Linked DNA regions of Homo sapiens: all the other regions are linked to region 3. Evidence: promoter capture Hi-C in human tissues and cell types (Jung and others, 2019). All regions are on one chromosome and are shown on one strand. The core of a region is centred on a gene start or on the middle of the fragment in contact, and the rest is flanking DNA. Distances in the headings are between cores, read along the strand shown.

The links. The method cuts DNA at HindIII sites, captures the fragments that hold promoters and counts their contacts. A contact is called where the count stands out against the background at its distance.
Region 1: a contact is called between a fragment that was not itself captured here and the fragment with the promoter of DYNC1H1 in region 3, in 1 of the 25 tissues and cell types used here (IMR-90 fibroblasts).
Region 2: a fragment that was not itself captured here is called in contact with the fragment with the promoter of DYNC1H1 in region 3 in 1 of the 25 tissues and cell types used here (hippocampus).
Region 4: a contact is called between a fragment that was not itself captured here and the fragment with the promoter of DYNC1H1 in region 3, in 1 of the 25 tissues and cell types used here (dorsolateral prefrontal cortex).

The regions. Positions count from the first base shown.
Region 1 is chr14:102,107,399-102,114,347 of GRCh38, reverse strand. It overlaps a transcript of HSP90AA1 not described here. Among named protein-coding and RNA genes, the nearest start is that of HSP90AA1, 24 kb to the right of the region's middle. The HindIII fragment of the contact is 6,059 bases long and covers 1-5,482 here.
Region 2 is chr14:102,168,525-102,175,348 of GRCh38, reverse strand. All of the region lies in intron 1 of WDR20 (WD repeat domain 20), which reads right to left. Among named protein-coding and RNA genes, the nearest start is that of WDR20, 32 kb to the right of the region's middle. RefSeq lists an enhancer at 2,536-3,521. The HindIII fragment of the contact is 6,952 bases long and covers 1,883-6,824 here.
Region 3 is chr14:101,961,254-101,968,652 of GRCh38, reverse strand. DYNC1H1 (dynein cytoplasmic 1 heavy chain 1) reads right to left here and starts at 4,080. Exons shown (of 78, transcript NM_001376.5): 1 at 3,706-4,080. The coding sequence starts at 3,961. RefSeq lists silencers at 3,388-3,597, 4,088-4,247, 7,192-7,368 and enhancers at 3,123-3,732, 3,733-4,343, 4,388-4,527, 7,210-7,269. The HindIII fragment of the contact is 2,222 bases long and covers 4,008-6,229 here.
Region 4 is chr14:102,192,419-102,199,645 of GRCh38, reverse strand. It overlaps WDR20 (WD repeat domain 20), which reads right to left. Exons shown (of 3, transcript NM_144574.4): 2 at 4,526-4,708. Among named protein-coding and RNA genes, the nearest start is that of WDR20, 56 kb to the right of the region's middle. The HindIII fragment of the contact is 6,324 bases long and covers 1,397-7,227 here.

The DNA.
Region 1 (6,949 bases), core at 1,204-3,703, 150 kb before region 3:
CATCTGAGAAAAGCCTCTAAACGTGACTTAGAGATCAAAATAAATGACATGGCCAGGTGCAGTGGCTCACACCTGTAATCCCAGCAATCTCAGCACTTTGGGAGGCCGAGGTGGGCGGATCACTTGAGGTCAGGAGTTCAAGACCAGCCTATGCAACATGGTGAACCCCATCTCTACTAAAAATATAAAAATTAGCCCAGTGTGCTAGCGCACGCCTGTAGTCCCAGCTACTCGGATGACTGAGGCATGAGACTCTTGAGCCTGGGAGACATGAGATCATGACTCTGCATGACAGAGTGAGACTCTGTAACAAAAAATAAATAAATAAAATAAATGGGGGCGGGGTGCAGTGGCTCACGCCTGTAATCCCTGCACTTTGGGAGGCCAAGGTGGGCAGATCACGAGGTCAGGAGATCGAGACCATCCTGGCTAACATGGTGAAACCTCGTCTCAACTAAAAATAGAAAAAATTAGCGGGGCATGGTGGCAGGCGCTTGTAGTCCCAGCTATTCCAGAGGCTGAGGCAGGAGAATGGCGTGAACCTGGGAGCCAGAGCTTGCAGTGAGTCAAGATCATGCCACTGTACTCCAGCCTGGGCGACAGAGCGAGACTCCGTCTCAAAATAAACAAATAAATAAATAAAAATAAAAAAATAAAATAAATGAGTATGCCTGGTGCGGTGGCTCACGCTTGTATCCCAGCACTCTGGGAGGCCAAAGCAGGCAGATCACTTGAGGTCAGGAGTTCCAGCCTAGCCAACATGGTGAAATCCCGTCTCCACTAAAAATACAAAAATTAGCCAGGCATGGTGGGGCATACCACACCTGTAATCCCAGCTACTCGGGAGGCTGAGGCAGGAGAATTGCTTGAACCTGGGAGGCGGAGGTTACAGCAAGCCAAGATCACAACATTGCACTCTATACTTCACTCCAGCCTGGGTGACGTAGTGAGACTCTGTCTCAAAAATAAATAAATTAATTAAAGAAAGAAAGAGAGAGAGAGAGAGAAAGCAAGCAAGCAAGCAAGCCGGGCGCGGTGGCTCACACCTGTAATCCCAGTACTTTGGGAGGCCAAGGCGGGCAGATTGCCTGAGGTCAGGAGTTCGAGACCAGCCTGGCCAACATGGTGAAACCGTGTCTCTACTAAAAATACAAGAATTAGCCAGGTGTGGTGGCAGGCACCTGTAGTCCCAGCTACTTGGGAGATTGAGGCAGGAGAATCGCTTGAACCCGGGAGGCAGAGGTCGCAGTGAACCAAGATCGCACTACTGCACTCCAGCCTGGGCAACAGAGTGAGACTCCATCTCAAAAAAATAAATAAATAAATACAAACAAAACAAATGACACAAATGAACAGAAAAAATAATATTGAAGAAAACAGGCTGTACAGGGAGATGCGAATTTACAACAAGTGCTAATATTAGTAGTTTAAATAGATATTGCATCTATGAAATAAGAACGGTCTGCATTCTTGTAAAAAACTTAGGAAAATAAAAAACCTCTTGAATATTAAAAACTTAACAGCAGAAATTAAAATGCTAGAAGGGTTGGAAGAGAAAGTTGAAATCAACTGGGCACAGTGGCTCACGCCTGTAATCCCAGCACTTTGAGAGGTAAAGCCAGGAGGATGCCTTGAGGCCAAGAGCTCAAGACCAGCTTGGGCAACATAGTGAGACCTCCATCTCTACAAAAAAATTTAAAACTTAGCTGCACATGGTGGTGTGTGCCTCCAGTCCCAGCTACTCAGGAAGCTGAGGTGGGAGGATCTCTTGAGCCCAGGAGTTCAAGATTACAGTGAACTATGATCACACCACTGCACTCCAGGCTAGGCAACAGAGCAAGACCCTGTCTCTTTTAAAACAAAAAAAAAGGGAGAGCCAGGCACGGTGGCTCACGCCCGTAACCCCAGCACTTTGGGAGGCTGAGACAGGCAGATCATAAGGTCAAGAGATCAAGACCATCCTGGTCAACATGGTGAAACCCCATCTCTACTAAAAATACAACAAAAATTAGCTGGGTGTGGTGGCGGGCACCTGTAATCCCAGCTGCTCAGGAGGCTGAGGCAGGAGAATTGCTTGAACCCAGGAGGCACAGGCTGCAGTGAGCCAAGATCGTGCCAGTGCACCCCAGTCTGGGAACAGAGTGAGACTCCGTCTCAAAAAGAGAGAGAGAGCATATAATAGAAGACCACCTAGAGAATCTAAGAGGTCCAAACTCCAAACACTGTAGGAGGAAATTATCCACAAAATCTTCAAGTAAAATTTCCAGAACTGAAGAACATGAGTTTACAGAGGGGATGAGCCCACCAAGTGTCCAGCAGAATGGATAAAAATAGATCTATACCAAGGTACATCACTTTGAAATTTTAGAACACTTGGAATAGAAAAGATCCTACAAGCTTCCAGAGAGAAGAAATGTCATATAAAAGGGATCAGTAATCAGAATAGCTTGACTTGTAAACACCACCACTGAAAACCATAACACAAGTAGGAAAAAAAGCTCTTTTATGCTATCTTGATGTATCTTTGCCTCTGTTGTTCATTGATGGATCCCAAGTGCCTAGAGGCAGTGCCAGGCATGTACTAGAGTCTCAGTAAAAATTTATTGAATGTAAGAGAACAATTGAGAAATGGCTTCAAAATTCTGAGGAAGTATTTATTCCAGCTTATAACTAAACCAATATATCACTCAAGTATGAGTTTAGAATAAAGATATTGTGGGACATGCAGGGTTTCAATTTACCCTCTTTGTGCCCCTTCTCAAGAAGCTGTGAAAGGATATGCTTTGTTTTGGGCCAGTTTCTCCCATTTGGAAGGGGTGTATTTACCCAATGCCTGTACCCCCATTGTATCTAGGGAACATGAAAAGGGAAATCTAGGCAGAGGTTCCCAAACCTCAATTCTTGACTTCCATGCACCTGCAGGCTCAGTACCATGTGGAAACTGCCAAGGCTTGGGGCTTGCACCCTGTGAAGCAATGAGCTGTTCCTTGGCCCCTTTTAGCCATGGCTGGAGTGGCTGGGACTCAGGGCACCAAGTCTCTAGGCTGCACAGAGCAAGGGGGCCCTGGGCCCGGCCCATAAAACCATTTTTTCCTTCTAGGCCTCCAAGCCTGTGATGGGAGGGGCTGCCGTGAAGACTTCTGATATGCCCAGGAGACATTTTTCCCATTGTCTTGGGAAATTAACATTCAGCTCCTCGTTACTTAAGCAAATTTCTGCAGCCAGCTTGAATTTCTCCTCAGAAAATGGGATTTTCTTTTCTAGTGCATTTCCAGGCTGCAAATTTTCCAAACTTTTATGCTCTGCTTCCCTTATAAAACAGAATACTTTGGCTGGGTGCAGTGGCTCATGCCTGTAATCCCAGCACTTTGGGAGGCAGAGGCAGGTGGATCACCTGAGGTAAGGAGTTTGAGACCAGCCTGGCCAACGTGGCAAAACCCCATTTCTACTGAAAATACAAAAAATTGGGCTGGGCGCAGTGGCTCACGCCTGTAATCCTAGCACTTTGGGAGGCAGAAGCGGGTGAATCACGAGGTCAGGAGATCGAGACCATCCTGGCTAACACGGTGAAACCCCATCTCTACTAAAAAATAGAAAAAAATTAGCCGGGCGTGGTGGGGGGCACCTGTAGTCCGAGCTGCTCGGGAGGCTGAGGCAGGAGAATGGCGTGAACCCGGGAGGCGGAGCTTGCAGTGAGCCAAGATCGTGCCACTGCACCCCAGCCTGGGCCACAGAGCAAGACTGTCTCAAAAAAAAAAAAATTATCCGGGCATGGTGGTGGGCGCCTGTAATCCCAGCTGCTTGGGAGGCTGAGGCAGGAGAATTGCTTGAACCCGGGAGGCAGAGGTTGCAGTGAGTCGAGATTACACCATTGCACTCCAGCCTGGGCAACAGAGTGAAACTCTCTCAAAAACAAACAAACAAACAAACAAACAAACAAACAAAACTGAATGCCTTTAACAGCACCCAAGCCACCTCTTGAATGCTTTGTGGCTTAGAAATTTCTTCCACCAGGTACCCTAAATCATCTCTCTCAAGTTCAAATTTCCACAAATCTTTAGGGCAGGGCAGGAGCAGAATGCCACCAGTCTCTTTGCTAAAACGTAACATGAGTCAGCCGGGTGCGGTGGCTCACACCTGTAATCCCAGCACTTTGGGAGGCCAAGGCAGGTGGATCACAAGGTCAGGAGTTCGAGACCAGCCTGGCCAATATGGTGAAACCCTGTCTCTACTAAAAATACAAAAAATTAGCCAGGCGTGGTGGCAGGCACCTGTAGTCCCAGCTACTCAGGAGGCTGAGGCAGAAGAATCGCTTGAACCCAGGAGGCGGAATTTGCAATGAACTGATATTGCACCACTGCACTCCAGCCTGAATGATAGAGCAGGACTCCATCTCAAAAAAAAATAAAATAACGAGTCACCTTTGCTCCAGTTCCCAACAAGTTCCTCATCTCCATCTGAGACCATTTCGGCCTGGATTTCATTGTCCATATCATCATCGGCATTTTGGTCAAAGCCATCCAACAAGTCTCTAGGAAGTTCCAAACTTTCCTACATTTTCCTGTCTTCTTCTGAGCCCTCCAAACTGTTCTAACCTTTCATCATTACCCAGTTCCAAAGTTGCTTCCAGAGTTTTGGGTTATCTTTTCAGCAGTGCCCCACTCTGCTGGTAACAATTTACTGTATTAGTCCATTTTCATGCTGCTGGTAAGGACATACCCAAGACTGGGAAGAAAAATAGGTTTAATGGTCTTACAGTTCCACATGGCTGGGGAAGCCTCACAATCATGGCAGAAGGCAAGGAGTAGCAAGTCATGTCTTACATGTATGGCAGCAGGCAAAGAGAGAGCTTGTGCAGGGAAACTCCCATTTTTAAAACCATCAGATCTTGTGAGCCTTATTCACTATCATGAGAATAGCACAGGAAAGACCCACCTCCATGATTCGGTTACCTCCCACCAGCTCCCTCCCACAACATGTAGGAATTGTGGGAGTTACAATTCAAGATGAGATTTGGGTGAGGACACAGCCAAACCGTATCAGGGATATTCAACTTGGAACTACTGTTACATACAACATGGATGAATCCCACAGACCTAATGCTGAGTGGACATAGCCAGACATGAGAGTACGTATTGTGTAATTCCATCTGTATGAAGTTCAGAAATGGACAAAACTAATCAATGGTGTCAGAATGTTGGTTATCTTTGAGGGAGATATTGATAGGGAAGAAACATAGGGAGCCTCTGGGGTGCTGGAAAGTCTGCATCTTGAGCTGGGTGTTGGCTGTAAAAGTGTATCAAGTATTACACTTAGGATTTAGCACTTTATGTAAATTATACCTTAATTTAAAAAGTTAAAAAATTCAGCTGTCCAATAAAAATTAAAATAAATGAAATGCAATCCACATAGCCCTGCTAAAGTCAGGAAGAGAATGACCACTATCTCCACTACTGTTCAACAGTGTATTGAAAGTATTAGCCAAAGCAATCAGATAAGAGTTACAAATGAGGGGCTGGGCTCAGTGGCTCACACCTGTAATCCCAGCACTTTGGGAGGCCGAGGTGGGTGGATCATGAGGTCAGGAGTTCAAGACCAACCTGGCCAACATGGTGAAACTCCGTCTCTACTAAAAATACAAAAAATTAGCTGGGTGTGGTGGCAGGCACCTGTAATCCCAGCAACTCCAGAGGCTGAGGCAGGAGAATCGCTCAAACCCAGGAGGTTGAGGCTGCAGTAAGCCAAGATCACGCCATTGCACTCCAGCATGGGCAACAAGGGCAAGACTCCATCTCAAAAAAAAAAAAAAAAAAAAAGTTATAAGTTAGATGTGTAAAAATTAGAAAAGAGAAGTTAAAAGTTTTACTATTTGTTAATGATAGGATCAATATTTACAAGGCCCAAGAAAATCAACTAAAAAACTGCTATTAATAAAACAATTTTTAAAAAAAGAATTCAAAGCTAGGCACCATGGCACAAGGCTGTAGTCCTAGCTTGAGGTATGAGGATTGCTTGAGTCCAGGAGTCCAAGTCCAGCCTGGGCAACAGAACGAGGCCCAATTTTTTTTTTTTTTTTTTTTTTTTGGAGACAAGGTCTCGCTCTGTTGCTTACGCTGTAGTGCAATGTCATGATTATGGCTCACTGCAGCCTCAACCTCCCAGTTTCAAGCAGTCCTCCCACCTCAGCCTCCCAAGTAGCTGGGTCCACAGGTACATGCCACCACACTTAGCTAATTTTCTAAAATTTTTGTAGAGACATGGCCTCGCCATGTTGCCCAGGTTGGTCTCAAAATGGTCTCAAGCAATGCTCGTGTTTTGGCGTCCCAAAGTGCTGGTATTACAGGTGTGAGCCATTGCACCTGGGCTTCAAGGCCCCAATTCTAAAAAAAAAAAAATTTAAGAGAGAATTCAGTGAAATGATAGGGTATACAATTACAGAAACCAGAAGCCTTTATACACACAAAGACACAAACAGTATTACAGTGAGCATCTTCATACGTGCCCTCCTATGGATCCTTGTCAGAACTTCCCTTGGGTCTGTGCTCAGGAACAGGATTGGTGGGACAGAGCGTTCACACATTCTTCATTTGACTGAAACTGCTAGGTGGCTCTCCAGAACAGCCACACCAGCTGTCACACCCACCAGCATCCTTGCTAGTACTTGCCATATCCCCTACATATCCTCTGTGCTTGTGGAAAATGTGCTTCTGCAAAACCAGGGGCTAGGCTAGGAGTGGTGGCTCATGCCTATAATCCCAGCACTTTGGGAGGCCAAGGCAGGTGGATCATGAGGTCAAGAGATCGAGACCATCCTGGCCAACGTGGTGAAACCCCATTGCTATTAAAAATTCAAAAATTAGCTAGGCATGGTGGCGTGCACCTGTAGTCCCAGCTACTTGGGAGGCTGAGGCAGGATAATTGCTTGAACCCGGGAGGCAGAGGTTGCAGT
Region 2 (6,824 bases), core at 4,109-6,608, 210 kb before region 3:
ATCTTCAACAAAGCAAACAAAAACATAAAGTGGGGAAAAGACACCCTATTCAATGAATGGTGCTGGGATAATTGGTAAGCCACATGTAGAAGAATAAAATTGGATCCTCATCTCTCACCTTATACAAAAATCAACTCAAGATGAATCAAAGACTTAAATCTAACCTGAAACCATAAAAATTCTAGAAGATAATACCGGAAAAATCCTTCTAGGCATTGGCTTAGGCAAAGATTTCATGACCAAGAACCCAAAAGCAAATGCAACAAAAATAAATACATGGGACTTAATTAAATGAAAAAACTTCTGCACAGCAAAAGAAATAATCAGCAGAGTAAACAACCCACAGGGTTGCAGAGAAAATCTTCACAAACTGTGCATCCAGCAAAGGACTAATATCTAGAATCTATAAGAAACTAAAACAAATCAGCAAGAAAATAATTAATAATAATAATCCCATCAAAAAGTGGGCTAAGGACATGAATAGACAATTCTCAAAAGAAGATATACAAATTGACAGTAAACATATGAAAAAATGCTAAACATCACTAATTATCAGGGAAATGAAAATCAAAACCACAATATGATACAACCTTACTCCTGTAGCAATGGCCATAATTAAAAAACAAAAAATGCTGGGCATGGTGGCTCACGCCTGTAGTCCCAGCACTTTGGGAGGCTAAGGTGGGTGGATCATGAGGTCAGGAGATCGAGATCATCCTGGCTAATATGGTGAAACCCCGTCTCTACTAAAAATACAAAAAATTAGCCAGGCATGGTGGCGGGCGCCTGTAGTCCCAGCTACTCGGGAGGCTGAGACAGGAGAATCGCTTGAACCCAGGAGGTGGAGGTTGCAGTGAGCCGAGATTGTGCCATTGCACTCTAGCCTGGGTGACAGAGCAAGACTCTGTCTCAAAAAATAATAATAATAAATAAATAAAAATAACAGATGCTGGTGTGGATGTGGTGAAAAGCGAGCACTTTTACATGGCTGGTGGGAATGTAAACTAGTACAACCGCTATGGAAAACAGCATGGAGATTCCTTAAAGAACTAAAAGTAGATCTTCCATTTGATCCAGCAATCCCACCACAGGGTATCTACCCAGAGGAAAAGAAGTCATTACATGAAAAAGACACTTGCACATGCATATTTATAGCAGCAGAATTCACAATTGCAAAAATATGGAACCACCACAAATGCCCATCAATCAGGTGGATAAAGAAAATGTAACAATAATAATAATAATCATGGCATTCCAAGCAACCTGGATGAAGCTGGAGACCATTATTCTTTTTTTTTTTTTTTTGAGATGGAGTCTCACTCTGTTGCCCAGGCTGGAGTGCAATGGCGCGATCTCAGCTCACTGCAAGCTCCGCCTCCCGGGTTCACACCATTCTCCTGCCTCAGCCTCCCGAGTAGCTGAGACTACAGGCGCCCGCCACCACGCCCAGCTAATTTTTTGAATTTTTAGTAGAGATGGGGTTTCAGCATGTTAGCCAGGATGGTCTCGATCTCCTGACCTCATGATCTGCCCGCCTTGGCCTCCCAAAGTGCTGGGATTACAGGCGTGAATCACCTCGCCCGGCTAGTTATTCTAAGTGAAGTAACTCAGGAATGGAAAACCAAACATCATACGTTCTCACTTGTAAGTGGGAGCTAAGCTATGAGGATGCAAAAGCACAAGAATGATATAATGAACTTTGGGGACGCAGGGGGAAGGGTGGGAGGGGGATGAGGGATAAAAGACTACACATTGGGTACAGTGTACACCGCTCAGGTGATGGCTGCACCAAAATCTAGGAAATCACCACTGAAGAATTTATCCATGTAACCAAATACCTCCTGTTCCCCAAAAACCTATTGATAAAAATAATAATAATAATAATAATAATAATAATAATAATAATAATAATAATTTTAAAAAAAGAAAAAAACAGGCCGGGCGCGGTGGCACACACCTGTAATCCCAGCACTTTGGGAGGCCAAGGTGGGTGGATTGTCTGAGCTCAGGAGTTTGAGACCAGCCTGGGCAACATGGTGAGACCTCATCTCTACTAAAAATACAAAAAACTGGCCAGGCATGGTGGCACAAGCCTGTAGTTCCAACTGCTCGTGAGGCTGAGGCAGAAGAATCACTTGAACCCAGGAGGTGAAGGTTGCAGTGAGCTGAGATGGTACCACTGCACTCCAGCCTGCGCGACAGAATAAGGCTGCCTCCAAAAAAATAAAAATAAAAAATAAAAATAAAAAACAGGCCATCCCATCTAGGAAGTGAGGAGCGCCTCTTCCCGGCTGCCATCCCATCTAGGAAGTGAGGAGCGTCTCTGCCCGGCCGCCCATCGTCTGAGATGTGGGGAGTGCCTTTGCCCCGCCGCCCCGTCTGGGATGTGAGGAGCGCCTCTGCCCAGTCGCGACCCCGTCTGGGAGGTGAGGAGCGTCGCTGCCCAGCCGCCCCATCTGAGAAAGGAGGAGACCCTCCGCCTGGCAACCGCCCCGTCTGAGAAGTGAGGAGACCCTCCGCCCGGCAGCCGCCCCGTCTGAGAAGTGAGGAGCCCCTCCGCCCAGCAGCCACCCCGTCTGGGAAGTGAGGAGCGTCTCCGCCCGGCAGCCGCCCCGTCCGGGAGGGAGGTGGGGGTCAGCCCCCGCCAGGCCAGCCGCCCCGTCCGGGAGGGAGGTGGGGGGGTCAGCCCCCTGCCCGGCCAGCCGCCCCGTCCGGGAGGTGAGGGGCGCCTCTGCCAGGCCGCCCCTACTGGGAAGTGAGGAGCCCCTCTGCCCGGCCAGCCGCCCCGTCCGGGAGGGAGGTGGGGGGTCAGCCCCCCGCCCGGCCAGCCGCCCCGTCCGGGAGGTGAGGGGCGCCTCTGCCCGGCCGCCCCTACTGGGAAGTGAGGAGCCCCTCTGCCCGGCCACCACCCCGTCTGGGAGGTGTGCCCAACAGCTCATTGAGAACGGGCCATGATGACAATGGTGGTTTTGTGGAATAGAAAGCGGGGAAAGGTGGGGAAAAGATTGAGAAATCGGATGGTTGCTGTGTCTGTGTGGAAAGAAGCAGACATGGGAGACTTTTCATTTTGTTCTGTACTAAGAAAAATTCTTCTGCCTTGGGATCCTGTTGATCTGTGACCTTACCCCCCAACCCTGTGCTCTCTGAAACATGTGCTGTGTCCACTCAGGGTTAAATGGATTAAGGGTGGTGCAAGATGTGCTTTGTTAAACAGATGCTTGAAGGCAGCATGCTCGTTAAGAGTCATCACCACTCCCTAATCTCAAGTACCCAGGGACACAAACACTGCGGAAGGCCTCAGGGTCCTCTGCCTAGGAAAACCAGAGACCTTTGTTCACTTGTTTATCTGCTGACCTTCCCTCCACATATGACCCTGCCAAATCCCTCTCTGTGAGAAACACCCAAGAATGATCAATAAAAATAAAAATTAAAAAAAAAAAAGGAAAACAAACAAAAAAACAAAAATAAAAAACAGAAAAATCCCTATTTCGTTAGCATTATATAATGTACTAAACATATTCCTTAAATATAATGCATAATTACCTATTATTACTAATCTTATCAATCTTTACCAACTGAAAATTCTATAAAATTTGTTTTAACACAATACTCCCCAATAGGCTGTATTTCCACCGTTATTTTTAAGTCAACGAAAGATAAGATCTTTGGGAAGATACAGGCAACTATGTCTTAAACTGAAAAGTACACAGGGCATAGCTAACTGGTCTTACACCACTCACAGTTTAGCAGAAAACAGCTGACAAATTACTCTCCAGACAAGACATAAAAGATCAAGAAATCCTAAAATTGTTTTTTAAAACATGGGGTGAAATCTCACCTCACAATTTATACCAGAATAAATCTCAGCAGTATCAAAAAGAAATCATATGTAAGAAATGAAACCTCAGAGGTACAAGAAGAGGCCAACAGTGTGGCTCATGCCTGTAGTCCCAGCTACTCACCAGACTGAGGTGGGAGAATCCCTTGAGCCAAAGAGCTTGAGGTCACAATGAGCTATGATTATACTACTGTACTCCAGCTTGGGTAACAGAGCAAGACCCTGTCTCCTAAAAAAAAAAAAAAAAAAAAAAAAGAGAGAGGCCAGGCGCAGTGGCTTGCACCTGTAATTCCAGCACTTTGGGAGGCCAAGGCAGGCAGATCACAAGGTCAGGAGTTTGAGACCAGCCTGACCAACATGGTGAAACACCGTCACTACTAAAAATACAAAAATTAGCCAGGCATGGTGGCGCATGCCTGTAATCCCAGCTACTCAGGAGCCTGAGACAGAATTGCTGGGAGACAGAGGTTGCAGTGAGCTGAGATCGCGCCACTGCACTCTAGCCTGGGTGACAGAGCTAGACTCCATGTCAAAAAATAATAATAATTATTAAAACAAAAATGAAATTTCCCAAGGAGGAGGAAGAAGAAAAATAAAGGGAAAAAAAGCAAATTTCTATGTAGGAAAAAACTACCATGAGCAAAATCAGAAGACAACTGACAAATGGAACAAAATGTCTGTCCCTCAGATCACAGATTAAGGGCTAATTTATATAAAAAGCTGGGCATGGTGGTGCATGCCTATAGTCTCAGCTGCTCAGAGGCTGAGGTGGAACGATCGCAGACCAGCCTGGGCAACACAGTGAGATCCCATCTCTAAAAAAATTTAAAAATTAAAAATAAATAATCATAAAAGAGATCTCCTACCAACTTAATTTTTTTTTTTTTAAAGACCAGAATCCTAGTAGAAAAGCGGGTTCAGGACATGAACAACTCATAGAAAATACAGATGGCTCTTAAATATACAAAACAATGCTTAATTCATAGCACAAGAAACACCAGAAAACTCTAGTGTTATACCATCTTTCATCTGTCAAATTAGCAAAGATCAAAATAACAATACACTATGCCACAAGTAAAAATTGGTACAATTTTTAGAAGGCGATTTGACTATGTCTCTAAAATTACAAATGCACATATCCTTTTCACCCAGCAATTCCTCACAGGAATTTATTCCTCAGATATACTAGCAACAAGGCAAAATGATGTATGTACAAAGTGATTTATTGCAGTATAGCGTGTAAAGACTAGAAACATCAATGTCCATCAAAAGAAGAATTATGATAAATGTACACAATGGGATATTGTACAGGCATTAAAGATGCTTTTACACAATAATGTCTTTATTGACAAAGAACAATCTCCGAAGTATACAAATCAAAACAAGGTGTAAAACAGTGCAGATGCTAAAGTTTGCATTTTTATAAAGGAGGAAAACTATATCTGTAATTTTGTGTATTAAAACATTGGCTATCTCTGGAAATACATACAAGAACTTAATACTGGTTACTTCAGAGGAGGGGGACAGGGTGGCACTGGAGGGCAAAGTGTGAGAGACTTCATTGCATGCTCTTTGAATTTTGAACCATGTGAACGTATTACCTATTAAAAAATAAAATAGGCCTATGAGACGTCACAATACCTAATTCCCAATGCAGACTTTCTCACTAAGTTACTTGAGAAAGGCCGGGCGCGGTGGCTCACTCCTGTAATCCCAGCACTTTGGGAGGCCGAGTCGGGTGGATCACCTGAGGTCAAGAGTTCGAGACCAGCCTGGCCAACATGGTGAAACCCTGTCTCTACTAAAAATACAAAAATAAGCCGGGTGTAGTGGCAGGCGCCTGTAATCCCAGCTACTCGGGAGGCTGAGGCAGGAGGACCACTTGAACCCGGGAGGCAGAGCTTGCAGTGAGCATTACGCCATTGCACTCCAGCCTGGGAGACAAGAGTGAGACTTCACCTCAAAAAAAAAAGTTACTTGAGAATATCCACTATCCATTCATCCAATATTTATTGAATTCTATATGCTTCAGGCACCATTTTAGATCCTGGTATCTCACCAACAAAGACAGATAAAGCCCTCCTCTTGTAGATTTTAGGTGGGACTAGTCAGTAAGCAGGCAACAAAATGAACATCAGCAAGGAACATGAAGAACAATCAGTCAGGAAAGGGGAGTGGAACGACTGAGGTGGAAAGGTGATGGCAGTGCCTTTCTGGGCAGGGCTAAGAGAAAGCTTCTTTCACAGAACCACATTTGGGCAGAGACCTGAAGAAGTGAGGGAGCCAGCGCCATGGCCACTGGGGAGGGGATTCTAAGCAGAGGGGCTAAGGATTCTAAGCAGAGCGTGTACCATTGGCTCCACGGGTGGGACGGGGAGGGGTGCAGCTGCTCTTCATGGAATGCAATGGATGGAATAAATGAGGAGGAGGTGGCAGCAAATCACACTGGGGAATCGGGGAGGGGAAAAGCACTGTATCAAAAGCAATTCAGATCTTATTCTAAGCGCTATAGAAACACATTAGAAAGTTTTAAGCAGCGAAGAATATGATCTGACCTATACTGTTTAAACGATCACTCTGGCTGACATCAGGAGAACAGACTGTAAGAGGCAAGGATAGAGGTGGGCAGCCAGTTGGAGACCTCTGTAATAATCCAAGTGAGAGACGCTGCTTCCTTAAACTAGGGTGGTAGTGGTAGAAGCAGAAGTGTTCAGATTCTGGATATATTTAGAGGCAGAGTCAACAGGCTCTACTGAAAGGACTGGAAGTAGATCGTGAAAAAAAGAACTCACAGGTGACTCCAAAAATATTTAACCCAAACAACTTTTTACAATGATCTAATGGGCTCATTTTTTAAAAGTCACACCTTCATATAAAGTTCAACTACTCTAAAACAGGTTATGAACACCATCAAAAAAAAGCAATGCTCATCTACATACCAAACTGGGAAGCTGCAGCCATTTTAAAATTGAAAAAACACATACTT
Region 3 (7,399 bases), core at 2,831-5,330:
AGGTTGAGGATGCGGTGAGCAGAGATTGTGCCACTGCACTCCAACCTGGACAACAGTGAGACCCTGTCTCAAAAAAAAAATTCCAAGTCTCAAACACTGGAGTGTTAAACAAACAAACACGTGGGGTGTGGTAGCTCACACCTGTAATCCCAGCACTTTGGCAGGCGGAGGTGGAAGTATTGCTTGAGCCCTGAAGTCCCAGACCAGCCTGGGCAACATGGTGAGACCTCCTCTCTATTAAAAAAATGAGAAAATGAACTGGGAGCCCAGGAGGCCGAGGTGGCAATGAGCCATGACTGGGCCACTGCACTCCTGCCTGGGTGACACAGTTGAGACCCTGTCTCAAACAAAACAAAACAAAACAAAACCCTTTCCCCACCAAAAACAAACAAAAAACCCAAACTACACGCTCTCATCCAGACCAACCAACCTAGCAGCCAATCCCAGGCAGGTCATGAACAAGCTGCAGAGCAGACAAGTCATGGAAATGTCAGTTCCATCAGCTGCAAACTGAAGCATACCCCACCGAACGGAGATACACAACCAAAAAATGGTCCTTGAAGTAAAAAATGCTACAAAAACGTCATTAACATAAAATGGCTAGTTAAGTAATGAGCACCTATTTTGTCACCATGCTGTAAGCATACTATGAGGAAGACAATTTCCTACAGGCCAGGAACTATACAAAGGTTTCTCTTTTTAAAATGAGGAGCTATAACTTAATCCCTTTTTCCCACAAACTCTCCAATTCCTCAGTATCAAGATGAGTTGTTAAATTCACAACATTTATTCTATACTTTGAGTAATGCTGTACTTGATTTATTTTAGAGATAGGGTCTCACTCTGTACCCAGGCTGGAGCAAAGTGGTGTGATCCTAGTTCACCACAGCGTCAAACTCCTGGGCTCAAGCAATTTTCTCAAGTAGCTGGAACTACTGGCATACACCACCATGCCTGGCTTATTTTTTAATTTTCTGTAGAGATAGGGTCTTGCTATGTTGCCCAGGCTGGTCTTGAACTCCTGGCCTCAAGTGATCCTCCTGCCTTGGTCTCCCAAAGTGCTGGGATTACAGGTGTGAGCCACCGCACCCAGCTCAATGCTGCACTTTAACAACAAAAGTTTATGGCTAGCTGGGGTAGCTAAAACAAACAAACAAATAAAAAATATATATAGTTTCACATAAAAATGTTTCTATATTCAATTACAAGTGTTTGGATACTTCCACAAAAAAAGTGGAAGGAATAAAATAAATAAAAGTAATTTCTACTGTTCATTAAATTACATGACTTCATTGTTGGTGATCTTTATTCAGTTTAAATAATTCAGCTCTGTTGTCTACATTAATGCATGCCTATCTTTTCACTGTAATTAACTACTGGATGCACATATTTGATTAAATGTACAAATGCCAAAGCTAACTCATAAAAGCCACCAAGAAGAAAGCCCTCCTACCAAAAGTCCTGGGTCTCTACTTATATCTAAGGTGTCCTAGTGTAGCCAGGCTGCTAATAAGACAAACAGACCATCTATCATAAAACTGGATTAATTTAAAAATCTTTCCTTAGGTTTTTGTAAGTGAAAAATAAATTATAGACAGGTTGAATTGGTAGAAATACTTCAAGGATTGTTATAAATACAGAAATGAGGTAGGATTTCAATTTTAGATAGTCTCATTCCTTAGTCAACTTTCAAAAGTGCAAGTCATTATGGAGCCAAGATTTGGATACCTGCATATTTGTTTTGCTGAAAGAAAAAAAGGTACTCATAAGACAACAGAGAGAATTTGTAGTAGATATTGTACTACATAAACATAGTCCCCCCACCCCAATAATTTTAGCAACGTCCAATTTTAAGATGCCTGGAAAAAGCGAATTACTGGTGATCACTCTAGAAGCAAAGTATAAAACTTAAATTTTTTTTCATAAAAAGAGTGACACAAGGTAAAAAAAATAAAATCACTGATTCTAATACATAAACTATGCAATAAAAATATCAAGGATTAGCAATGGTCAAGCTACTCAAAATACAATTAACTTTAAAAATGCAGATTAAAATGTATTTTAATAAAATGACGAATATGCATTGAAAAATGACCACAAAGACATAAACCAAAAATGCTGACAGTGATTATATCTGGGTCAAACAATTCCCAGTGATTTTTACTTTAGCTGTATAGTACATTTTCTACAATGACTATATGTTTTTTGGAAAAAAAAAAGAGTAGATAAATTTTTTTTTTTTAACTTTTGTGGCTTCCACTTAGGAATACATAATCCCAAACATCACAGTAAACAACCCTCAAAAACATTAATACTCTAAATATGCTCAAATGGTTTATTTGCCTTGAACATTCCACGTGGATATAAGAAAAAAATATTCTTTTACACCCTGCTAATCTCTGGCAGGAAACCAAGGCTACAGGGAAGCATCTTCTGAGTAAGAATAGCCTTTGAAAGAAACAAACCATCAGAAACACAGTGTGTGTTAAGGATGGGGCAGACAGTACAGGGTCTCTCACTGAGAGAACCATACAGTTTTTTGAAATTTTAAGAAGCTTGTTGGCAAATATTTTTAGACAATCTCCAATCCCTAGAGGCTAACCTTGGACATCATCCTTAGGTTCTTAGATGGACACGCCACACCCAAAGTGGTTGTAATGGGCTACAAAGTGGTTGTAATGAATCCATGAGAAAGCCTGCCTGCAGGCAAGCCCCAGACTTAGATGAATGTAACCTTGCTGGTGGGCGATCATTATTTGAGGAGACAGCTGGAACACGCTAACTCTAGCCTCTTCCCCCTACTAGGTGCCTAACCTGAATCTTTTTTTTTTTTTTTAATCTGTAAAATTAGACTCAAATATTACAGGGTTATCATTAACATCATCGAAGCATTAAACAAATATGAGGTATGATCAGTGAAAACAAGCAGTGGATGGGGAGCTGAGACACTGAGTCTAGTCTCAGGACTAAGATTAGCTGGTGACCTTGGGTGAAATCACTTAACCTGAGCCTCAGTTTCCTCAGGTGTAAAATCAGGATACACCCGTTCAGCAAGGATGCTGTGAGAGCATCCACCTACAACAGTGATGCTCGCAGGCCCGGGGCTGGCACCGTCGCTCTGTGGGCCTCGGCCTCTGGGTCCCCACAAGGCAGGGCTGGGACACCCGCCCGACCTCCTCCCGAACCAGAACCCCGGCTGCCCCCAGCTCCGCGGGTCTGCCCCCGACACATCCCTCCCGAAGGCCACTTGGCTTGGACACAAATCGAAACCGAAAAGCTCATGTGACACTGGAGGCAGGGATGCGGCCTCGCCCGCTCTCAGCCCAGGGAGACGCTGTCTCCACCCAACTCGGCCATCTTGAGAGGCCCGAGCAGACAAAGCGACCCCATTGTTTTGGGTGACGGCAGACGGGGACCCCTTTCCCCTCCCCGCGACCAGGAGCGGGGCGCCCTGGGGGCTCCGGGCCGGGCAGTGGGTGTGGCGAGGGCGAGCCCCGGGCGCCGCGCCGGCCTCTGCGGGGCGTCTGCGGCCCTGGGGACCCGGCCGGCGGGACGTCTGCGGCCGCCGGGCTCTGCCCATCCAGGGGTCATCTGCAGCTGCCGGGCTCCTCCCATCCCGGGGACATCTGCGACCCCGGAGGACCTGGCAGGCCCTGCATTCCGCGAGGCCTGGCTCTGGCGACCCTGCCCTCCGCGGCCCCGCACCTTTGAGCGTGGAGCGCTCCACCAGCACCGTGTGGACCTGCGGGTCCGAAAGGAACTTGCGCATCTGCTCCAGGGCGCTCTTCTCCTCCAGCGCCGCCTCCAGCGCGGCCGGCGCCTCGCCGCCGTCCTCCAGCAGCAGCGGCACCAGCTTGCGCAGGTGCTTCTGCAGCACCGACACGTCCGCCACATTCTGCACGGCCGACACTTCCAATCCGGCCGAGCCGTCCTCGCCGCCGCCGCCCCCGGGCTCCGACATGGTGTCGCGCTCGGGACCTTCCAGGAGCGATGAGAAGGCGGCCGCGACTCAGCGAGACAGCCAGCAAGAGACAGAAACGGCCGCCGGAAGCCGGACCGTCCGCTAGCCCACCGCAGACTGAGGAGAGCGGGAGCCGGCTCCGCCCTAAAGGCAGCCACTGCCAGGTGGCCCCGCCCCGCCCCGCCGGCCGCAGCCGCCGCAGCCACCCGCGCTCGCTCGCGGCCTTAGCGTCACGGCGCCGCGCGTGCGCGGGGGGCGGGCCCGGCGATGTCGCCGCGCGCCCTTCTGGGACTTGTAGTCTCGGCGCTGGTCGGGGCCCGCAGCCTCCGCACTGCGAGTCCTAGGAGATGGGGACTTGGCTCAACGTCCTGGCTCGGCGCCCGGGCTTGGCGAGGTTGGTCAGGGGCTGCGTCTGTCTTCTTCACTGCTGTGGACGCAGCGAATAGCACACAGCCAGAGAAACTTTATAGTGAATCAGTGATGTTATTGGCGAGAGCTAACGTTTAGTGAGCGCTTAGCCTGTGCCCGGCGTTGTTCTAAGCCCCTTAACCTCTCATTAAATGTTCTCTCATTGAATGAATGAATGACTACGTATCAGGTACCAAAATATAGGCACGACAGATGTGTTATTAGATATAGACCGGGAGATTGAGGATACTTTTCAGAGGGGGAGGAGATGAGGGGCGTGCTCAGAGAGTCCCATTGCCAGGCTGGAAACGGACAGCTGGGGAGGGGGCCTTCGGGGCAGTGTAAGGTTAAGCCAGGAATGACACCTTCACTGTACGTAAAGCCAAGCTGTGATGGGATCTGGTTCCTAATGACAAAAATCATTGTCCCCGAGGACGCTGTGAGGACCAAGAGGGAGACCTACTGAGAACAGCTACCTCCAGCAATGGCTCTCCTCCAGCCCCCTAGAGCTGGCACTGTCATTCTGTGGGCCTCAGTATCTGGGTCCGTACAAGGCAGGGGCTGGGTTGCCTGCCCACCAAGTTTCCCCCTAGTTCGGACCCACCACGACCTCCTCCCCTACACCATGACTACATAAGAGCCAGAATCCAGGCTGCCCAGCTGGGTGCGGTGGCTCACACCTGTAATCCTAGCATTTTGAGAGGCTGAGATGGGAGGATTGCTTGAGGCCAGAAGTTCCAAGACCAGCCTGGTCAACCTAGCGAGACCCTATATCTATGTGTATTTAAAAATTAAGAATTTTGTAAAATAATAAAAATAATAGAATCCAGGCTGCCCATCTTTGTAGTTTAGAGATGGTAGGTTCTTCTAAGGGGTAGTAATTGGCCTTTGAAAGTTCACATTCATAACTTCTTTCTTAAGTTGGGTGGAGAGAGGGAAGCCAATGGCGTTTTTTTTTTTTTTGGTTTTTTTGTTTTTTTTAAACATCAAAGTGCACTGTCAGAGTGCCGAGTCCTGATTGGTGGAATGATGATGGTATGATTTGATTCTCCCAAATCATCTTTGAAAAACTGTGAAACATACAATAAGCTTATTCCTTGCCTAATTACCGGTTGCTGGGTCCCAGGGGGTTGCTGGAACACGGAGACTAATCAGATGATTCTTGTCTTTAAGGAGCATGTGGAAGAGGGGACAGATGAATACCCCATCTTCCTGCTCTCCATCAGTCCGCCCTGGTGTGATGTGCCTAAGCAGTTCCGAGTAATCTTCCTGGAAAAAATAAATAGGCAACTGCGATGAGTTTGTGCAAGGATCCTAATGGTAATGAATAATAATAACACACCACTGACAGCGAACGCTGAGTGTTCACTGCGTGCTAGGCACCATGCAGAGGGTTTCCCCTCACATGTACTTTAGGGGTAGAAAGAGGGACAAAGAGGAAAGTCTATTAGGTGCAGATCTGTGAACTCTGAATAGGCCATCCACCATCTGAGACTCAGAAACCTGCAGGGACCTGGCCGATGGGCAGGCTGCATGCTGGCTGCACCATGAGTCAGCACCAGACTGGGAGACGCAGCCACTCAGGGATCCAAGGGACTCAAACATCTGCAACCTGGCCCCAGGCCAAGAGAACAAACTGCAGGCTCCGGATTTGCGGCCCTGTAGGATAGGCTCAAAATGAAACATGTTTGTTATTTCTAAGTGGATGGGAACTGAAAGAACCCGAACAATCAGTGTACAAGGATTCATGAATGGACCAAACATGCTTGCTTTTTGTTCTTGAAAGATGTTTGTTGTATTTAATATATAACGAGAAGAGTGGTCAACGCTGACTGGGTGCTGAGCACTTTAAGTGCATTACCTGGGTGGCTGGCTGGGCTGTGCCAGGGTTGAAGGGTGTGGGGAGCTTCTTTCAAGGTGCCCCTTCTGCCTCCTGGCACAGGACTCTGGCTCCAGCACACCCCAAGCTGACCCTGGTGGGGGTAGGGCCCCTCACCCAAACCTGGCCTCTCCCGTCTCTTGTTCTGCTGCCTCAGCTTTCTCCTGTCTGTGGTAGAGTCTGCTTGGACAGACTCTGGGCAGGGCAGGGGGCAGGGCAAGCTGGAGAGAGAATTCGTTCTAGGTTGATGTGGGATGATAGTGGCTGGTAGGGCGCTTGTATCCTATTGGAAATCCATGATGAGATCCCATTCATTCCCACCCTTCTCTTAACAATGTCTCCTTAAGTCCAAGTCTCAAGTCGGGTGCCCAGTTTCATACCATCCTTCCTCTCCCTCTCACAACCTTCGGGCAGGACCAACCCCCTCAGAGGAACCCCTGCTGCCCCAGCCCTTTCAGGCTCTGTGCCCAGGATCTCCCCTCCACTCCCTGGAAATTCCACATTTGGCCAGGTGTGGTGGTGCACACCCTTGTTCCCAGCTACTCAAAAGGTTGAGGTGGAGGTCGAGGCTGCAGTGAGCTGTGATCTCACTACTGCACTCCAGCCTGTGCAAGAGAGTGAGACCCCGTCTCTAAATAATAATAATAATAATAATAATAATAATAATAATAAATTTAAAGAAAAAGAATTTCCATCTTGGGCTCATTCGTTCATTCATTCATCCCCACTTGTGAGAGCAGGGAGGTCTAAGCTTCTCGGGATTCTCAGCACCAGCGGGGCCTGGACCAAAGCGTGCACTTGGTTGGTGGGTGTGAAACTAATGCCTTACCCCGAGGAAGGGGCGCTGGCGGTGGCCGTGGGGACACGGGGTGCACTGTGGATCAAGACCTTCCTGGCCACATCTCTGGGGCTGTCAGGGTGCTGCTGGAGGGCAAGGCTGGGACTTCACAGGTTCGCAGGGCTGCAGGACGCTTTCTGAGGAAGCTCATTCCAGGATCCACCCCCTTTCTGTCTTGATTCCTTGTCAAATGAGCCTCAGGGTGAGGCTTGAACCAGATCTGGTTCCTGGAGGCTTCGACCCCAGCAGGTTGGAGTTTGAAGCGCGTGGTGAGAACGGAACGGTCTCTTGGCGCCGTCTAGTGGCAGCAAAG
Region 4 (7,227 bases), core at 3,309-5,808, 230 kb before region 3:
ATGCTGGGGATTCGGTGTGTGAAGGTGTGTGCACGTGTGGTAACAGGTGGGTCTGAGAGGTGTTCTGGTGAGGAACACTGAAAGGCCACATTGCTGTAATTGTGACCAGCGGGCCAACCCTCAGCCTCACACATGTTGACTCTCTGCCTGGGTTGCCATGCTCCTACCTGCTTGTCCTAAAAAATTAATTATTTGTATTTCAAAACGGTTGGTATCTCACCTCCCACGGAACCCTTTCCGTCCAACACCACCCCTCCCAGGAAAGGAAGCCTGAGTTTCTCTCAACCTCCACGTTGCTGAGCATCCACCAAGGCTCGCTCTTCAGGCCCTTCACAAACACCCTGCCTGAACTCACTCATCTGAGCCTCATCACAAACCTCTCAGGTGGGTGCTGTTCCCACCCATTTTCCAACCGAGGAGAGGTAAGACCCACATCATCCTGCAAGCAGAAAGTGGCAGAGCTGGTGTCCGAGCCCTCAGCATTCTGGGCTGTGAAGTTGTAAATGTCGTGGTAATTAACTGTGTGTTAAGTGCCCCTTTGAAAGCAGTAGCTGAGATGGCCAGAATCTTGGAGTATAATCAGGCCTCAGACCCAGGCCTTCTTTGTTCTCACCATCATCTCTCCAAAGAACCTTTCATCTAATCTCAAGGATGTGATTATTATTTCTATGCTGACAACTGCCAAATTGTAACCCCTAGTTTTGTGCTCCAGATCCATACATCCCACTATCTACAGGTCTCTCGAACTTAGCAAGTACAGACCAGAACCTCTGATCTTCCCCTCCATTCCCTGACAACTGCTCCTTTCCCAGTCTCACCCAACACAGCAAGAGACACCCAGAAACCTGATTTATTAATACACCTTTCCAATTCAGTCTCCAAAAAGCAGCCAGGGTACCTTTCAAAAACACCAATCTGCCTGCCTTGTGCACCTGCTCCCTTCTAAGGAATCCCGTACTTCAGGCTAAGAAACAAATCTGGATCAGGCCGTAGGTGATGTGGCCCTCCAATCTCATGCCCTTACTTCATGCCACCTTCCCCAGGTAAACCGTCCTTCTTTCAGTTTCCTTGGGCTCAAGGGCCCTCATGTGCTATTCCTTTTGCAGGAAAGCTCCATCTCCAGTTCCTTACCTGGTTGGCCTTCTTCTCACATGAGGCACAGCTTAAAACATAGCACTTCGTCCGAGAGATGTCCTCTGCCTCCCAGTTTAAAGTAGACCTCTGTGTTGGCCAGGCGTGGTGGCTCACGCCTGTAATTCCAGCACTTTGGGAAGCTGAGGTGGGTGGATCACTTGAAGCCAGGAGTTCCAGACTAGCCTGGCCAACATGGTGAAATCCCGTCTCTACTAAAAATACAAAAATTAGTCAGGTGGCCTATAATCCCAGGTACTTGGGTGGGTGAGGCACAAGAATAGCTTGAACCTGGGAGGTGAAGGTTGCAGTGAGCCAAGATTGCGCCACTGCACTCCAGCCTGGGTGACAGAGTAAGACTCTGTCTCATAAATAAATAAATAAATAAATAAATAAATAAATAAATAAATAAATAAAGTAGACCTCTGTGATTCTCTCCCTTTCTTGGGCCTGCTCTCTTGCCTCTTACATCACAAAGTGTCACCATCTGTGGTCACCAGTGTTTCGGGGGTGGTGCTATTATACCTCTCTTCCCTCCTGAGAGGGGTCACAGGAGGGCAGGTTTTGCCCACTGCTGCAGACCCAGTGCTGGGCATGTGGTAGGTAGTCAAGGTCCTGAATGAATGAAACAATGGCCGCAACTCTAGTTCAAGCCCTCAGCTCTCACCTGGACAGTTACTAGAGCCTCCTCACTGGTCTTGCTACCTTCATTCTGTCTTTCTTCATTCCAATCCACCTTCCACAAGTGCTGACAAGAGTTCTAAAAAAACACATTTGATCCTGTCACTCCCTTCATTAAAAGGCCAAAGGTTCCCCCACATCTTCCAGTGTCAGTTCCAAATTGCTTCACGTGACATGAAAAGGCTTTTATAAGACAAGCTGGTTCCAATTTATCTTTCCAGCTTCGAACTCTGACACTCCAAGTCCCACACTGTGATGTGGCCAAGCTGTTACTGGATGTTCTTTCACATGCCTAGTTGTTCCTCCAGCTTTGAAGGCCTTCCTTACCCTCCTCTAATGACTATGTACCCTTTAAGACCCACATCAAACATCACTTTCTAAAAGCATTTCTTGGAACTCCCCCAGTGAACTTAACATTTTAAAAAACTTTAAAATGCATACTAAAGAATTCCTGCGGCAGCTAGCCCTTGGTATTTTGTTCATATCGCTGTGCTGACACGTGCCCAGTACTCTCTGTCCATTCTTACTAAACTGTGAGCTCCCGGAAGGGCAAGAGCTCATCTGGCAACCATGCATGGTGGGTCCTGTAACCAATGAGTTTCTGGAATTAATTTCTGGTTCCAACTCTATCATCAACTTGCTACCTGATCTGGACAATTCACTTATGTGCTCTTTGACTATTTCCTCATCTGTAAAATGGGAACAACTCCCCACCCTCCCTGTAGAGGCCATAGGTAAAAGTGCCTTGAAACCTGTAAATGTCACACCACAGCAAAGCACGACACGATGACTACTTCACCACCATTCCTGGCACTCTCTAAGGAACAAACCTCCGGTGACCCTTGCTCTTAGACATTCTGACCAAAATCTGATAAAAATGTATCCACATGGCCAGAGGATCTCCTTACTATGAAGGGCAATCGATTTCAGCCTCAAGCTGTAAATGCAAAGCTGGCATTAAACCACACACAGTCTTAGCATTCTAAATAGCAATTTCTCAAATAAAATGTAAAGTGAGTATGAGATAACTCATGCTTAAATCATGAAGAATGAGGAGCTGCCTTCCAGCCTGCAACTCCCAGTCACCAGGGCAGGGATAGTTCTGGCCAATGCAGCCTGAGTGCTCCCAGAGCCCTGAGATTCTGGGGACGTGTGGTCTCCAACTCCCTGCCCTCCCCCTGCCACGACACACAAAACTTTCTTGTTCTCTAAGCGGCATTCTGTACCATCCTCGGCCAGGGCTGCCTCCGGGTCTTGTTTACTAACAGCCCTTACATGGCTCCAATCCCTGCCCCCTCCAATCACACTCTCCCCTACCTAAACAATAAAAACCCACAATGATTCCAAATTCACAATTTCTGCTAACAGTGCAGAGGAGGCCAATTTTGTGCGCTGCTCCCCAAACTCAGCACCAAAAAAATAATCATCCAGCTACTTAGAAATCACTTCTGCAGATGATACTAAAAAAACATCTAGGTAAATAAAATATTTTCTGCTTAACTTTTTTTTAATGGAAAATGGGATTAAATACTTTTCCTCTACAATCTGTCAGTCCAGATGGCAAGTTTTGTTTCCAGTCAACTCAGAGGAAACTAGAAGAGATGGCATGGTTCATAAGATCTTATCAAATCCACTGGCAATGTCAAACAGGAGCACCCTGGGTGGATACTGATTTGCATGAATAGCAAGTACCATAACTGCAAAAGAATCCAAATTTTAACTGCCATTTGTCAATTTGAATTTTCTTCCCCAAACAAAATTATTTCTTAAAAACCATACTCTATAATGTGTTTTTGTTCCAAGTTAATGATGTTAAAACCATGCAACAATGCAAAAGGGAGGGGGTCCCACATAGCCTGACCCTTGCGCCTCAGGGGCAAGGTCCCAAGTAGAGATTGGAACCCAGGGCTTCTAACTCAGCAAGCCTACCTTATCTTTTCCACTTGGTAGAAAAGTCATACTGAAACAGACGAGGAAGAATATTAAATATGAAATAGCAATACTTGAGGCTGAAAGATGCTCCAACAGCTTTAAAAAATATAATCTACTTGGCAATTTCTATATGCCACATTTAACAGTCCTGACATGTTCCTGAACAGACAGCTCAGATATCTCAGGCTCTTTCCAGAATGAAATTGAAGATACTAGAAACCCCAGTACATACTACAACACTGGCAAAAGCTATGTCATGTGACCAAACTTTAAGCGCCAGGATTTCCAACTATGTCAAAGATGAGTTTACAGTAACTATTTTCAAGAGCAAGTGAAGTACTCCTTAGCCAAATGACTGTCAAACATACATACAAAAGCTTTGGCTACAATTTAAGCAGCCTAAGGAAATGTCATCAAGTTCTTTGATCTGCATGAAATGTTCTGGTGATGTGAACCAACTTTGGAATTCCACATTTTCTTACTTAAATTATAAATACCGAGTTACAGTACTGTCCCTATCTCCATTATAGAAGAGTTTTAAAACACCTGTTATAGACACCTGAGCATGCTCCATAAAAATGCACAAAACAGTCACCCCAAGGAAGAACAGGTAAGGTCAACAAATTAATCCACCACATTTAAACTTGGGCATACTAGGTAGGAGGGCTGGGCGAATAAAAAATGGGCTTAGCTTGAAGTGCAAAATAAGGCCGACTACCCTCGGTAAGAATGTATCAACTCTTAAAGGGATTCTTAACAGCTAAGACAGGGTGCTACTTACTTCCTCATTAAAAAGTTTGCTAGTTTCTTTTTTGATTGGGTCTATAAGCTGGACTTGGCCTGCGGAAAAGCCCACTAGGAGAGAGACACTTTCTGCTGTGGCTGTTAGGTGGTTGAAGTCATGACAAGTAGGCTGTGTTCCTTTGTATATCCTTTTATCTATTGGTTTACTCAAGTCAGCAGCCTGGAGGAGAAAGAGAAAAATACATACAGTAAACAGCACATTGAGATGAGAAATCTAAGTTATGCTACTTTATACTCCATTATGATGTTTCATCTTAAAAACAAAGTGATTTAAAATGTTTTTTCAGTTGTGACTTAACATCATCTAACATTTTATAAAAGCACTTTCACATACCTTAGCCAATTAGATATTATTAGACTATCTATAATATGTTTACAACTGTTACTTTCACAACTTATTCTCCTTCAAATATATGTAACAAAGACTCCTGGACTTCAGCAGGAAATATCCTTGAGATATTAAATTCAGTATTTTCAAAATGCATTTCAAGCAGTGTCTAACAGAGTAACCACATAAAAAGCTCGGCTTTCAAATGTATCTACAGCACCTACATGCCCACTGGCCAGTTACCTGCAGCCCAGTGGTTCTCAAAGTGTAATCCCCAAACCAGAAGCAGCAGCAGCAGCATGTGGGAACTTAGAAATGCAAAAATCTCAAACCTCACCCCAGACTAAATGAATCAGAAACTATGGGAGTAGGGCCAGCAAGTCGTAAAGAGGCTTCCAGGTGATTCTGATGCCCGCTCAAGTCTAAGAACCACTGCTGGAGCCCACTCTATACAGGTGGCTCCCTTCCTGGGTCAAAATCCCTCTTCTGGATTAGGTTTCGGGGAACATTACTTATCGAGGCCATAATCAAAGGACTTTACATGCATTGTCCTTAATCCTAACAATAATGCTCCAAAGTGGACAATATTTTACCCATTTTACAGATGAGAAAACAAGTTTAGGGAAGTTAAATAACTTGACCAACGTCACCATACCTACCTAAGTAAGTGGCAGGGCTGGATTTGGAACCCAGGTCTGTTTGACCATTAAGGGGATGGGGAGAGAGAGTCAAAAGCAAATGATTTCTCACTTGGGTGAAAAGTGATTTTTCAATGTGCCCTCCCCACTTTCAAGAAGGATTCTTTTCTTCATGAGAAATGTCCTGTGGCATCCCAATATGCTGGGCTTTTATTGGTGAAATAAGGGAAACCCACCCCCTCCCACTCTTGTCTGAAAATCTCCAGTGGAGACAACTAACCCTGAAGCAGAACTTGTCCCTCAAGACACCCAGTTCACGCTGTGTGGCCCTCTGGGGCTCCCGGCTCTAGTTCTCTACTGACCGCCCCCTCAGGTTCTGAAGATTTCTTTCTTCCAAAGAGGCCTGTGACATCGAACCAAGTATTCTAATGTTGGACTTTCCAATAACAAATATAAGTAATGAGTAGAAAAGAGGACCTCAAAATTACAGGCGTCTTTGAGCAAACTCAAAACCTTGCACATGTAGAAGTCTGGACCTGAGCGGTAACAAGTAGTTCTGGGAGCCCCAGGGCAAAGGAATGAGGGTGCATGCCATGCGGACACTCTCCCAGCCTCACCTCAGTTAAAACGGAGATGAGAATCTCTGTTCTACCAACCTCATGGGATTGTCTGGAGGATGAAATAAGAGAATATATACATGAAAGAGCCTTGAAAAGTGTAATACAAAGCATGATACAAAACAAAAGGGAGTCCTGACTGGAGCGAGGAGAAAAGCGGCCAGTGGAGGGGAGCGGCCGCTGTACAGCAAGGCAGGCTGAAGGCAGCTCAGCCGAGTGCTGCGAGTGAGCAGCGGGGCCTGGGACGATGGCCACGGACAGGCTGTCTGAGGAAGGCAGCTTCTGAGCGGCTCGGATGGCAGGGAAAGAGAATCCTGGCCTGAGAGAACACCACATGCCATTCATCTCAGAACGAGGAAGACAGCCACAAAAAAAAAAACAAAAAAAAAACCTACAAATATAAAATAAGATATAACTGGCAGCTAGAGAACAAAAATCCAATTTGAAATACGAACAATTAAGTTATACATAATTACTGTATCAGCATATTCAACTCTTGAGACTTTTTTTTTTTTTAGTTTGCTTAAGAAAAATAAAAAATCAGCTAGGTGTGGTGGTGCATGCCTGTAGTCCCAGTTATTCAGGAGGCTGAGGTGGGAAGACTGCTTGAGCCCAGGAATTCAAGGTGACAGTTAACTAGGATTGCACCACTGCACTTCAGGCTAGATGACATAGCAAGACAAATGACAGCAACAACCACTTAGGGAACTTTCCCCTGAAAGAATATACCTAAAATTATGCGCTGAAATACACAGATCAATTTAAAGGCTGGCCAGAAATTAACAGAGAAAATAGCCTAATATAAATTAAAAAATACGTAATGTTTCTCAGAAACAACAGAGGAAGTAAAAGCACCTGTTTTTCCAAGTACTGCCACCAGTTTAGAGTTAGACTTAGGGACCCCTCACAACTATAATGGCTTCAGTTATTGGTATATTTTTACATCCCTGCCTCCCAATATGGAACTTTACTGAAAAGATGGAAGCATTTTAAATGAGAAGAGATTATTTTTACTCTTAAATCAGGTAAAATGGGCCAGAAGGCACGGTGGCTCACGCCTGTAATCCCAGCACTTTGGGAGGCTGAGGCGGGTGGA